Regions from separate parts of the Homo sapiens genome. Here all the other regions are linked to region 3. Evidence: promoter capture Hi-C in 16 types of primary human blood cells and fetal thymus (Javierre and others, 2016). All regions are on one chromosome and are shown on one strand. Each heading gives the region's core, a stretch centred on a gene start or on the middle of the fragment in contact. The rest is flanking DNA. Distances are from core to core; before and after follow the strand shown. Region 1 has its middle 47 kb from the start of PGM2. Region 2 holds the start of PGM2 (phosphoglucomutase 2). Region 3 holds the start of PGCKA1 (PDCD10 and GCKIII kinases associated 1).

Region 1 (4,425 bases), core at 1,253-3,752, 330 kb after region 3:
CTCCACTGTCCCCTGTAGCTTCTTCTTCTTGTTCTTCTACTTCTTCTTCTTCATTTTTTTTTTTTTTTTTTTTTTGAGAGGGAGTCTCATGCTATCACCTACACTGGAGCTCACTGCAGCCTCCACCTCTTGAGTCCAAGTAGTTCTAGTGCCTCAGCCTCCTGAATAGCTGGGTCTAAAGGTGTGCACCACCACACCCGGCTAATTTTTGTATTCTTAATAGAGACAGGGTTGCACCATGTTGGCTAGGCTGATCTCAAACTCCTGACCTCAAGTGATCCATCTGCCTCAACTTCCCAAAGTGCTAGGATTACAGGCGTGAGCCACCACATCCACTCCCCACCCTCCCCGTAGCTCTTCCAAGGGTTTTCACACCAGCATGGCTACCTAGCAATAAAGTCTCACCATTAGGATTCTGTGGTTTGCAGCACAGATACCATTCCTTCCACACAGTATTCTAAAACATGCAGAACCATTTAACATGGAATCTTTTGAAATCCCAAAGCCACAGTGATCTTTTAAATTCACAAATCTGATCACATCACTTACCTGCTTAAAATTACCCAATGACCACCATTGTCTACACTGTGAAGTTCAATCAATGCCCTGACAATCTAGACCCTGCGTCCCTGTCTAGCTTCATCTCTGGCCCCTCTCCATACACAGGCTCTCGAATCTACTTGTTGTGAACACATGTTGTTATTTCCTACCTGAATGTCTCAGCTGCTCTGGCCTTCTCCTTCTTTGAACTAACATCTATTTGTCCTTGAGAACTTTACTTCAACTGCCATCTCTTTTTGCGTTCATTATTTGTTCCAATTATTTGACCCTTATACGAGTATCACTCCTTTCCAAATTATTCAGTTTCTGAGATTGAATGGTGAAGGTTTAGTAGTGAGTTTGGGTAGCAAGGGATACTTATATTATTTAAATATATTTGGTTCCCAGTTTCAAAGAGCAAGTATTAAGTGTATGGATAGTGAGGGCCCTAAGCAGTATGTTAATATAAATAAATACACACACACACACACACACACACACACACACACATCTAATCAGTTCCTGATATTGGATAGCAAGGCTACCTGATTATAGTTTTATTTCACAACTTACTTTTCATGTACATACATGATGTACAAAGGCAGCATAGTCTGTAGGGTTAATGGTATAGGGTCTTCAGCATGACTGCCCAGGTTGAAACCCCAGCTCTACTGTTTACCAGCCTACCTCTCTTCCTCATTTTCCATAGTTGTAAAATGGAAAAATAATAGGGCCAATCCCATTAAATTGAGAGGATTAAATGAGTTAATACATATAAAGTATTTACAATTGAACATGGCTCATGGAAAACACTCCATAAGTATTAGCTGTTAGCAGTAGTCATAGTAATTGTTTTGTTATTTATGCCTTGGTTTGTTCCAAAAAGAATGTAAGGTAGTGTGTGTAAATGTGTGTGTGTGCGTGTGTGTGTGTGTGTGCATTTTACTCCTCAATTAGCTTGCATGCTTCCTAGGGGCAGCAGCTGTGGCCTGTAATTTCTTTGTGTATTTTTAAAATGGCTAGCACAGTGCCAAGTATATGGTGAGTGCACAATAAGTATTAATTCCTCCTCCCCTTTTCTCCTTAAAATACACACCATGTTAGTCTCTGTTTTCTCCCACTACGCTGAGCACCATGCTTGGCTCAATGGTATATGTGTGTTGCTCGGTTGGACTGTTGTTGATTGCCACAGCTTGTTGAGCCCTACAGAAGTGCCTCAGCCTTGGACGGATATTCACTGACCCATTCAACAATCTTGTCCACCATTTTGTCTGCAGATTGAGTGTGCAGTGTTAATGAGCTTTGACAAGACAGAAGAGAACACGTTCACAATAACAATTGAAAATAACCCTTTTGATATGGCTGGGATATTTGTTCACTCCAAATCTCATGTTGAAATGTGATTCCCCAGTGTTGGTGATGGGGCCTAGTGGGAGGTGCTGGGCCATGGGGATGGATCCTTCATGAATGGCTTGGTGCTTTCCTCAAGGTAATGAGTGGTAGTAAGTTCAGCTGAGATCTTGTTGTATAAAAGAGTGTGGCATCTCCCCACTCTCTCTCTCTCTCTCGCACCCTCTCTCTTCATGTGACACACTTGCTTTCCCTTCACCTTCTTCCATGAGTAAAAGCTTCCTGAGGCCTCCCCTGAAGCAAAGCAGATGCTGATGCCATGCTTCTACAGCCTGCAGAGCCATGAGACAAATAAACTTCTTTTTTAAAAACAAATTACCCAGTCTCTGGTATTCCTTTATAGAAACACAAAATGGACTAACACACTCTCTATTCTTAATGGGGAGAAAAGCTAGAATTGCAGTGAAATGAAATGTTTGTGAAGAAAATCATGACTGACTTCCATTTAAAAATGTTTTTTACATTTAAAAATATGTGAAGTTCAGCTGGGCACGGTGGCTCATGCCTGTAATCCTAGCACTTTGGGAGGCCAAGGCAGGTGTATTACCTGAGGTCAAGAGTTCAAGTCCAGCCTGACCAACATGGCGACACCCCCTCTCTATTAAAAATACAAAAATTAGCCAGGCATGATGGCGTGCGACTGTAATCTCAGCTACTCAAGAGGCTGAGGCAGGAGAATTTCTTGAACCCAGGAAGCAGAGGCTGCAGTGAGCCAAGATCATGCCACTGCACTCCAGCCTGTGTGACAGAACAAGGCTCTGTCTCAAAAAACTAAAAAATAAAAAAAAATGTGAAATTCAATGTGCCTGATGATGCTGCCAGAAAAGAGAAAGCTAGCCTGAGTAGACCTTCATTCAGTTCTACCCTTTCTTAAAGTATGTCCTGTGGAAGCTTAATGCTGAATTAAAGTCTCCTAGAAACCTTATTAGGGGATTTGGGTCAGGGACAATAGTTGTTCTTCATGACCTTCTTTTGTAACCTCCTAAAGAATGCTGTCTATCATCTCACTAGGTTCACAAGGCTTGTTTTGTCCTTTGTAGTATCTCCCATGGCCCATCCAAGGGAAAAGGAAGTTCTTGCTCAAAGAAAGTTTGTGCACTATGCAAATGCAGTGATATCATTTTTCATCAGGCTGAACTAAACAGCACACAACAAAACCAAGAACCTACACCACTGCTTGTGCACTTACATGCTAACATAAACTGTACAGATTTATAGTCCCTGATGTGTACAACATCCCTTATGTATTAGTCTGTTCTCATGCTGCTAATAAAGATATACCTGAGACTGGGTAATTTATAAAGGAAAGAGGTTTAATGGACTCACGTTCCTTAGGGCTGGGGAGGCCTCAGGAAACTTACAGTCATGGCAGAAGGAGAAGCAAACACGTCCTTCTTCACATGGCGGCAGCCAGGAGAAATACAGAGTAAAGGGGGGAAAAACCCCTTGTAAAACCATCAGATCTTGTGAGAACTCACTTACTATCATGTGAACAGCATGAAGATAACCACCCCCATGGTTCAATTACCACCCACTGAGTCCATCCCACAACACAGGGGGATTATGGGATCTACAGTTCAAGATGAGATTTCGGTGGGGACACAGCCAAACCATATTACCTTACATATGTGAATTATCTTGTTTGCTTCTGAACAGAACAGTGGTAACTACAATTGCTCTACATTTTACATTTAGGTGGATCTTAAGGTGACAAGATTTTACTCCTTTTCACAATTTTTGTGATGGGACAATAAGCAGGAGAGGAGAAAAAGGCAAAGGAGCATGTAAAAATAAATGACCTGTTTTTTACTATGTCCCCTTTCTCAGTAGAATATGAAAACTTCCTGTGTGGGTCCTTTTATGGCTGCTTCTAGATTTTCAAAGCTGTCCCAGCTGAGACGCAGGCAAAGAGAAGAAAGAGGCTGGGCTGAAAACCACTGCAATTTCCTGGGGAGAGAGTGCCCCCGGATGGGCCATTGATCTTCATTGTTCCTGCTAGACAAATAGACTTCTCAACATCAAATAAAACTTTACTTGATGAAGATTTGTTTGGAAGGATGCTTTGTTTATATTTCTTTACCCTTTTAGATATTACCTACAATTTCTGAGCACATGTGCCAAGATAAAAGAACTTAACAAGCAAAGAAAAAGGGCGTTTTTTTCTATAGGGAGAGGTTCTGAAAAATCCAAGAACATAAGACGGGTTTGTATACTGGCTGAACAACATGGGGTGGCTAAACTGGTTGTGTTTCTAAATTCTTTCAAACAGGCAGAGTTACTAATTTGTCTTATCAGATGCTCAGCATGATAAATCTAAACCAAATTATCCTATCACATGAAGTACTCTTCCCTTAAGAATCAATTAAGCATTGGAAAAATGAGAATTCTTACTTCTATGCAGAAATGATACTGTGTGGTTAGCTAAAACTAGGACTGTGTTAGCAAAACACAGACTGTATTAGGACTATGATTTGT
Region 2 (4,101 bases), core at 1,002-3,501, 370 kb after region 3:
AAATAAATAAATAAATAAATAAGCCGGGCATGGTGGCACGCCCCTGTAATCCCAGCTACTCAGGAGGCTGAGGCATGAGAATCTCTTGAACCCAGGAGGCAGAGGTTACAGTGAGCCGAGATCACACCACTGCACTCCAGCCTGGGTGACAGAGCGACACTGTGTCTCAAAAAATAATAATAAAATAAAGTTGAAGAACATACGGAAAATGCACAACTCATAAGATTGCAGCTTAGTGAATATTACAAAGTCAACACACCTGTTGACCATCGTCCAGGTCAAGAAACAGAACAGTCCCGGAACCCCAGAAGGCACTTTCCCTCCTTCCCAAAGCTACCACTCTGCTGACATCCATAGGTTAGTTTTGCCTCCTTTTTAGTTTTTAATCTTAAAACTTAAAAAAAAGAGATATAACTTACATACAGTGAATTTTACCCTTTATATCGTACAGTTCTATAAGTTTTGATAAAAGTAAACCCCAAACTCAATCAAGATACGGAACAGTTCCACAACTCCCTCAAATTCCCTTGTGCCCTAGGTAGTCAACCCCTCCCCCAACCCCCAGCTCTTGAAAATCACTGATTTGTTTCCTTTACCTATAATTTTATATATTTCAGTGTTTTTTTTTTTTTTTTTTTCAGGGTCTCCCTCTGTCTCCCAGGCTGGAGAACAGTGGCACAATCAGGGCTCACTGCAGCCTCGACCTCCCAGGCTCAAGCGATCCTCCCTCCTCAGGACTCCCTCCAGCTCCCCCACCACGAAATAGCTGGGACTACAGATGAATGATGCAGTATTTTGGGGTGACGGGGTATGGGGGTGGGTGTTTGAACTCTGTCACTCAGTGTTTGTGAGATTCATTCATGATGTTGTGTATAACAGTAGTTCACCTGCATTGCTCTATCAATGTGCCATGATTTATTTATATGAATTGGTATGGATATACTACCAAGTATTTATCCATTGTATTGTCGATGGTCATCTGGGTTGTTTCCAGTTTGAGGCTTTTACAAATAATGCTGCTAGAAATATTCTTGCCCGTGCTTTTTTATGCTTATGGGTATGCATCTTCTTTATGGCTTGGTGATACCAGCGTCAGGAAGATGTGCTCCTATGTTAGTTTCCCTAAGTTTCACGCTACTATGGAAAGAGACCACCATTTCTGCTGTCCTTCCCAGCTTCTCCCCCACCTCCCCTTTTCCCTAGTTTATAAGACAGGAGAAAAGAGAGAAAGCAAAAAGTTGGAAAAAAACAGAAGTAAGATAAATAGCTAGACGACCTTGGCGCCACCACCTGGCCCTGGTGGTTAAAATAATAATAATAATATTAACCCCTGACCAAAACTACTGGCGTTATCCGTAAATTCCAGACATCGTATGAGAAAGCACTGTAAAACTTCTTGTTCTGTTAGCTGATGTATGTAGCCCCCAGTCACGTTCCTCACGCTTACTTGATCTATCATGACCCTTTCACGTAGACAGACCCCTTAGCGTTGTAAGCCCTTAAAATGGCTAGGAATTTCTTTTTCAGGGAGCTCGGCTCTTAAGACGCGAGTCTGCCGACGCTCCCGGCCGAATAAAAACCTCTTCCTTCTTTAATCCGGTGTCTGAGGAGTTTTGTCTGCGGCTCCTCCTGCTACACTACCTTTCGCACTTAGAGATACAATTGATCTGGAGTTCAGAGCTGTGTGTGATGGGAGGTAGGGGGCCAAGTTCCCTTTTTTCTTTTCCCTACGTGGATATCCCTTTGACCGAGCACCATTAACCAAAAATAGTTCCTTCCTGTGCTCTGCAGCCCCGCCTCTGAAATAAATTGTCCATACACGTGTATTTTTGTTTCTGGTCTCTATCTTATGTTCCACTGGTCTTCCTACTTTGCTTTTCTTTTTCAAGATTTTTTTCTGGCTGTTCTTGACCCTCTGAGTTTCTACATAGTCTTCAGGCCCCTATCTGGGTGCACTTCCTGGTATCCCAGCATCTGACATGTGCCTGGCGCGCAGCAGGAACTCACGGCTGGCTGTAGCCTGGATGCATCAGAGACGATGGCAAACCCTTCTCACACGTGCCAGGTTCCAGCAACCCACCCTAGCCCCGCAATTCCTCCTCGCTCACTCCCACCCCCTGCAGCGCACCCGCAAACGGCAAGGAGGCGTGCCCGCCGCGGCGCGCGTCACTTTCCCCCGGACCGACTGGCTCCGCCGCGGCTCTCCCCGCCCCCGCCTCCGCCTCCACGTCTTGGGGCCGGGCCGGAAGGCAGATCTCACCGCCTGCTTCCCTCTGCAGCGGTAGCACAAGCTCAGCGATGGCGGCTCCAGAAGGCAGCGGTCTAGGCGAGGACGCCCGGCTGGACCAGGAGACCGCCCAGTGGCTGCGCTGGGACAAGGTGAGGGGCACCAGCAGGCGGGGAGCGCCTGGAGCGGGGCCGGGTGCTCTGCCCTCTCCAGGCGCGGCGCTGCTTGCTCTGCCTGAGCTGCCTTCCCGCCCAGTGCATCCCGCTTCTCCCCCGGGAAGACCCAGGAGCGTACGGCCGCTGCTAGGCTTCCTTCGACCTGGCCGGCATGCGGCACGTTCAGAGTTAGGCCGGGAAGGCTTGTCCCCGGACGAAACCAGCCATCCGGCCGGCCGGACTGCAAGTTCGGAGTAGAGGAGCGAGCCAGGGTGGTGTAAGCGCGGCCAGACCCTGGACGCTGTCTAGTTGAGGGGCGCACGCCTTACTGTCACTCAGACCGCTGGCTCGTCGTCGGTAGTCGGCTGTGCATCCCCATGGACCCAGAATCGCTCCGTCCCGCGTATTCCTTTGGCCGCTGAGACCTTTGCAGAGCAGCGTTCTGGTCCGGTCCTCCCATCCCGAGGGCTTGGTTACAAACGTGGGTTGTCCTCCCGGGTGGGCCCGCCTGGCTTCAGGAGTCCCCCTTAGAACTTTGACTGCCAGGGAGGCACACCTGGGACACAGCACGGTTTTCTCTCTCTTCATTCCGTTTCTTAGAATCAGGAACCCAGCTCTGGACATCACTCCCTCTCCTCTCTATAAACTTGCGTCTCGCCCTTTCGACCTGTTCTGCTTGCTGTTAGGTTTTCTCGGAATGTCCCTCGCTGCTCTCCTGCTGAACTTGTTTCTCCCGTTGTGACTCATATTTTGTGCCTGAACTTAAATGTGGCTTACGTAGAGAGTCAGTCCTTCCTTGGCTCCGAAGCGTTAAATTATTTATCCCTAATATTCACTCTAAACAGTCTGTTATTTTCCTTTATAGCTCTTACTACAAATGGTAAAAACAAAAAACTCCAAAAACACTTGTTTGTAGGTTTGTTTAATGTCTGTCTCCAGGGCCGACTTCAGGGGCGAGAGACCCCTGCAGTCTCACAGGACTCGCGCTCCTTGAAGGGCCCACTGTTGTTTTAATGTCCTGCTGTCCTGTCTTGAAAGTCTTACTGGTAAAACAAGAGGTCACCCACTTTCATTGTGCACTGGACCTCCATAAATTATGTGGCCAGGCCTCTCTATTCTCACTACCTTGGTTTGTAGTGCCTGGCATAGGCATAGTGCATGACACATAGTAGGTCACTGAAATACTTGAATGAACAAAGAAGATTACAAGGTCAGTAGGGGTCAGGTCTTTGTCTTTATTTACCATTCTCTGGCCCCTACAAATAAAATGTCAGCAAATCCCATTTCCAGGATGCTATTGGCAACTCCTTGGGGGCGTTTTTCTTTTCCTGGGAAGATAACCTTGTGATTCACAAGGGAAGAAAAATGTTTCCATTTCTGATAACTTGTAGCTTGCAGAGTACAGAATTCTTTTGAAGTCAGAGTTCATAATGCACTTTCTCTAAGAAGAAGAAGAAAACAATCTAATTTCTACACAGTGTTGCATCTGTGTATAGAAAAATTGTATTTCTCTGGGTAGAGATGAGATGTCCTTTTTTTTTTTTAATCACTTCTCATGTTCTATCCTCTGTTAATTTCTTCTTTGCTTTGAGACTGGCACCTGAGAAGAAGCCCATTCATTCTCCAGTGAACCTCCCACCAGCTAAAAGCATTGCAGCCCTCTAGTCAGACTACCCCCGGCGACTGGCAAGGCGCCCTGGCAGGTGCCCTCTGTCTTTC
Region 3 (4,122 bases), core at 434-2,933:
TTCTGAATCAATACGTCTGGGGTGGGTCCCAAGAATTTGCATTTTTACTACATTCTCTCAGATTATGCCGATGCTATTAGTCTAGGAACTGCACTTTAAAATCTAAGGCAGGCTGGGGCGCGCGGTGGCTCAGCTTGCAATCCCAGCACTTTGGGAGGCCGAGGCGAGCGGATTGCTTAACCTCAGGAGTTCAAGACCAGCCTGGGCAAGTTTAGGAGAGCCCACCCCCACCCTAGTCTCCACAAAAATAATAATAATAATAGTAATAATAATAATAATAATACAAAAATTAGCCGAGCATGGTAGCATGAGCCTGTAGCCCCAGGCACTCCAGAGGCTGAGGTGGGAGGATCCCTTGATCCCCAGAGGAGGAGGTTGCAGTAAGCTGAGATCGCATCACACTCCAGCCTGTGTGCAACAGCCAGACCCTGTCTCAAATAATAATAAATAAATAAATAAAATGAAACCCAATACAAATACCAACCCCTTTTTCGACAGATAACCTACTTGATAAATGTATCAATATCCTGTAGACAATTAAGTGTCGACTATAAGTTGGACATGAGTGCCGTTCATTGTGACAAAGGATGTAAAACCACATATAACTTCCTGCAAAAATCTAACACTTTACAGCGTGCAATCCCAGCACTGCAAAATTAGAAGGATTCAAAAAATGGAGTGTTCAAATTCTCAAAAGCCTGGCAAATATCATGTGAATGGGGCTGGCATCATTAAAGTAGATACATTGAAAACCCAAGGACACTATGTCCATCCTTAGATAATACTCTGTCCAGATGCCTCTCCAATATCCTATTTTATTCTCTTGCTGGATGAGTTGAAAAGAAGAGAGAAGAGGGTAAGCTAGGTGGCGCAGTTGCTTAACACTTTTTTTGGCAAGCTCAGCATTTGCTTTGGAGCACAGGTGAAAAGAATGTCCAGTCCTTAAGCAGAGTCAGTTCTCCACCCGCCTTAGGTATATGGATTGTAACAGCTACGAATGTGGAACTCAGTAGATTGGATGCAGTCTTGTGGCCAATGCCCTAAGACCTCAGGAAAAGAAAGGGATGGAGGGGGAGTGGGTGAGGAGGGGACGGGGAACCAGGAGTTCATTGAACTCCCCCTGGGGCCTTTAGGGTGCAGGCGAGTGTGTGCAACTTCCCTGGTTTTTATCGTGGTGGTGGCGCCCCCGCTGTTTCTAGGTCCATGTAGCTCATACAGGGCTGGCCATGGAACTCACAGCAGGTCTAGGCGGCGAATGCCAGAAATAAGGAGGAAACTGAAAAATGCCAAGTTCTCGGGGTTTGGGAGTACACAACTATTTGCCAGCGGGTGCATTTGTTTTGTGTATCCCCGTACTCCAGTCCCTTGATCATAGGAAGCTCCCTTCTCTCCAGCGCAACATTGGAGTAAGCACCCCGGAGTTTCCCGTGATGGCAGGCGGTTGGCGCGGTCGTTTGTGCTCAGAGGCCAACAAGCGCGTGGATTTTCTGCTTCAGTGCGCCCGGGACTGCCACCCCGGCCCCGGGGATGTCGGACATCGTACTCCAGGGTTTCGAGCCCTAGCCCCGCCGCATCCTCGGGGCGTGCAGGTAAAGGGTTACGCGTGTCGGGAAGGCTCACCCGCAGCCCGGGCCACGTGACGCGCGGGCCCAATGACAGCGCTGGGGCGGCCGCTGCGAGCTCGGCGGGCTCAGGGCAGCGCGGAGCCGCTAGCGTCTCCCGGCGCGGCTGCCCGAGGCCGGCGAAGCCATGGGCGCCGGGACCCCGCCGCCGCCGCCGCCGCCGCCGTCTGGCCCCAGGTAGGGACAATCCCCCGCCCCGCGCGCGCAAAGAGGGCTTTAGTCCTGCGGAACTTGGCTTTGGGGCGAGCTTTCCCCCACTTCTCTCCGAGTCGCCTACTTTTAAGTTTAATTTCTTGATTTGCTTTTGCCCTGAAAAAAAAAATTAGAGACGCAATTCAAAGTTTGATGACTTCGGGAAAAGTCACGTAATTCAACAAAGGGGCTCTAAAAGGGGCAAAACTCGGGTGGGGGGAGGCGGACTTTTACAGATTCCCAAAACCAAAGACCAAGGCGTTTGTAAAGCTTGGCGTTTAATTGGTTGTGTGAAACATTTTTGCTTTTAAATCCCTAACTAATGAACTTTCAACGGTGCATGCGAACTTGAAAAAACTGCAAGAGATTTTACCTTAGATCTGTGCCCTCCTCCCCCATTTTAAGTATGTTTTTTAATAAAAAGGAAATGGAATGTGACCTCTGCTGTTTCTTTGAAATGCCCTTGGGTCCCGGTATTTGCCCCCCAGGGGTGCTGGCGGCCTGGGCAGTGGGTAGGGGTGGGGGAAGAGGTCAGGGTGCCAGGAGGCCTCACGTAGTGAAAAGAGGGTGCCAGGTGCAAACAGTTAAATAGTCACAAACTGTTTGCTAAATATTTAATAATTAGGCAAGCATCTCCCAGCTTGGTTACTTAGGTTGCATTGACCTTGGCAGCCCTGATGAGGCGAGATTTTCACAAAGTACTGGTGAAGAATTTTTCCGGTGATAAAAGGCAAGGATCAATGCTTTTTACCCCAGCATGGCAATTGACCTTAAAAACAAAATTAAAACTCCCTGTGATGACTTAGTACATTTTATGTTACTTTCCATGGCAGCATAGATACCTGCCCCATGATGGATATTTGCCCTGTGAATTTAGAGAAAGTTTGTGCTCCAGAGGTGGTTCAAATCATTGAAGAATAGGGCGTTTATTTTCTTCCTGTCACTATTTATGGGAAAGAATTACGGATGGTCCTTCTTGCCCTGGTTTGTGGATGTCCTTGGTGGTTGCAATCAAGCAAGCTCTTATGAGGAATAATATCTGGAGAAAAGAAGAGAAGCATTTGAGAGTTGAATGAGAAAGAAATGGAAAGCGGTTACTGCTTTTAAACATAATAGAGTCTATATTTGTTGCCTACCCCTCCCCCTTCCCCATTTAATCCTTCAGTTGATACTATTTTAGGAAGGATAAGACAGATGTTAAAGATCATAGACCACCTTACTGGTCCCAGCTGTGAAACACTGTCAGGAGGCAGATAATTGAAACAAGGTACATAATTGAAACAATTTGAAGCTCAAAGGTAAAGTTAAGTTCTGGAGTTATTTGTATTTCCCTAAAGTGTGAAGAGTCAGCTAACAGCAAGCTGCCTGGGTCACTGAGCAGAAATGGAACAGATGCTGAGACAGGAAGGGAAGGTGTGGCTTACTTCTCTTCTTGGCCCATTCTGTGTCTATCCTCTGATCCTGCTCCGTGCATTTATTCAGCAAGTATGATCTTGGTCCTCAATGGCTCCGGAGATTTAGATAAATAATGATACCTAAAGAGAAATAGGGCCAATCTTTCCTGTGTTTCAAAGAGCTTTTTGGATATCTGGGATTGAAGACAAAACCTTGCATACCAACTCAACACGTTCCATTATCCTAAACATGGAATGATTCCCTTGACGTCCCACCCAGACCCTCTCTGAGCCGGAAATACAACCTGGCTAAGCTCCGGCCAGAATCCATTTGCAGCCCAAGGGCAGAGCACAGGTAGGGCCGGCCCCTTTCCTCCTAGAACAGCCCGCTCTTGGTGCCCGGAAGCCCATTCACGGTGCTTCTTGGAATAGACGCCAGTTTCCAAATAATTGAATACCAGCCTTCCAGTAGCTAGGTTTCCTCTCCCTAGACTGTGTTTCACATTCCCCTAGTTACACAATTTTTCTGGTAACCCTGAATCTTGGGATCTTTTACAGTCTTGGTTAAATAGTAACTAGTACCTATGTCCTGCTTTTCTTTCTTGGTCATTAGGCAGATTTTCTTTTTGGTCATTCTTTTTGGTCATTAGATTACATGCTTACAGAGAGACTTTGTAGGTGTGTAGAAAAGAGTTGAGTTAAAGGGGTCATCCTAGGGGAAGCCGACTTGGAGTCTTCACCTATGTGCAGGTCAGATGTAGTCTTTCTCGAGTGCCTGCTCTTAACCATTGAGCCATCCTGTGTCTCCAGTTGTAGCCTTTCTTACTCTGACTGCTATTTAAGAGAATAAACTGAAAATGAAATCGCTCATCTACTTGTACCCTTTTCACCCGAGAATATCATAGTCCCACAGA

What was found. Contacts are between HindIII fragments. The CHiCAGO score rates a contact against its expected background, and 5 or more counts as called.
Region 1: a fragment that was not itself captured here is called in contact with the fragment with the promoter of PGCKA1 in region 3 in 3 of 17 cell types (naive CD4 T cells, naive B cells and endothelial precursors); the score reaches 7.3 in naive CD4 T cells.
Region 2: the fragment with the promoter of PGM2 here is called in contact with the fragment with the promoter of PGCKA1 in region 3 in 1 of 17 cell types (endothelial precursors); the score reaches 5.6 in endothelial precursors.

Annotation. Positions count from the first base shown.
Region 1 is chr4:37,777,101-37,781,525 of GRCh38, forward strand. No RefSeq gene overlaps it. Among named protein-coding and RNA genes, the nearest start is that of PGM2, 47 kb to the right of the region's middle. The HindIII fragment of the contact is 673 bases long and covers 2,167-2,839 here.
Region 2 is chr4:37,824,435-37,828,535 of GRCh38, forward strand. PGM2 (phosphoglucomutase 2) reads left to right here and starts at 2,252. Exons shown (of 14, transcript NM_018290.4): 1 at 2,252-2,379. The coding sequence starts at 2,299. RefSeq lists enhancers at 721-890, 1,923-2,424, 2,425-2,924 and a silencer at 2,135-2,434. The HindIII fragment of the contact is 6,567 bases long and covers 1-4,101 here.
Region 3 is chr4:37,452,242-37,456,363 of GRCh38, forward strand. It overlaps PGCKA1 (PDCD10 and GCKIII kinases associated 1), which reads left to right and starts at 1,684. Exons shown (of 4, transcript NM_001104629.2): 1 at 1,684-1,799. LOC124900691 (a long non-coding RNA gene) reads right to left here. Exons shown (of 3, transcript XR_007058098.1): 2 at 3,239-3,349; 3 at 2,076-2,853. The HindIII fragment of the contact is 3,173 bases long and covers 1-2,082 here.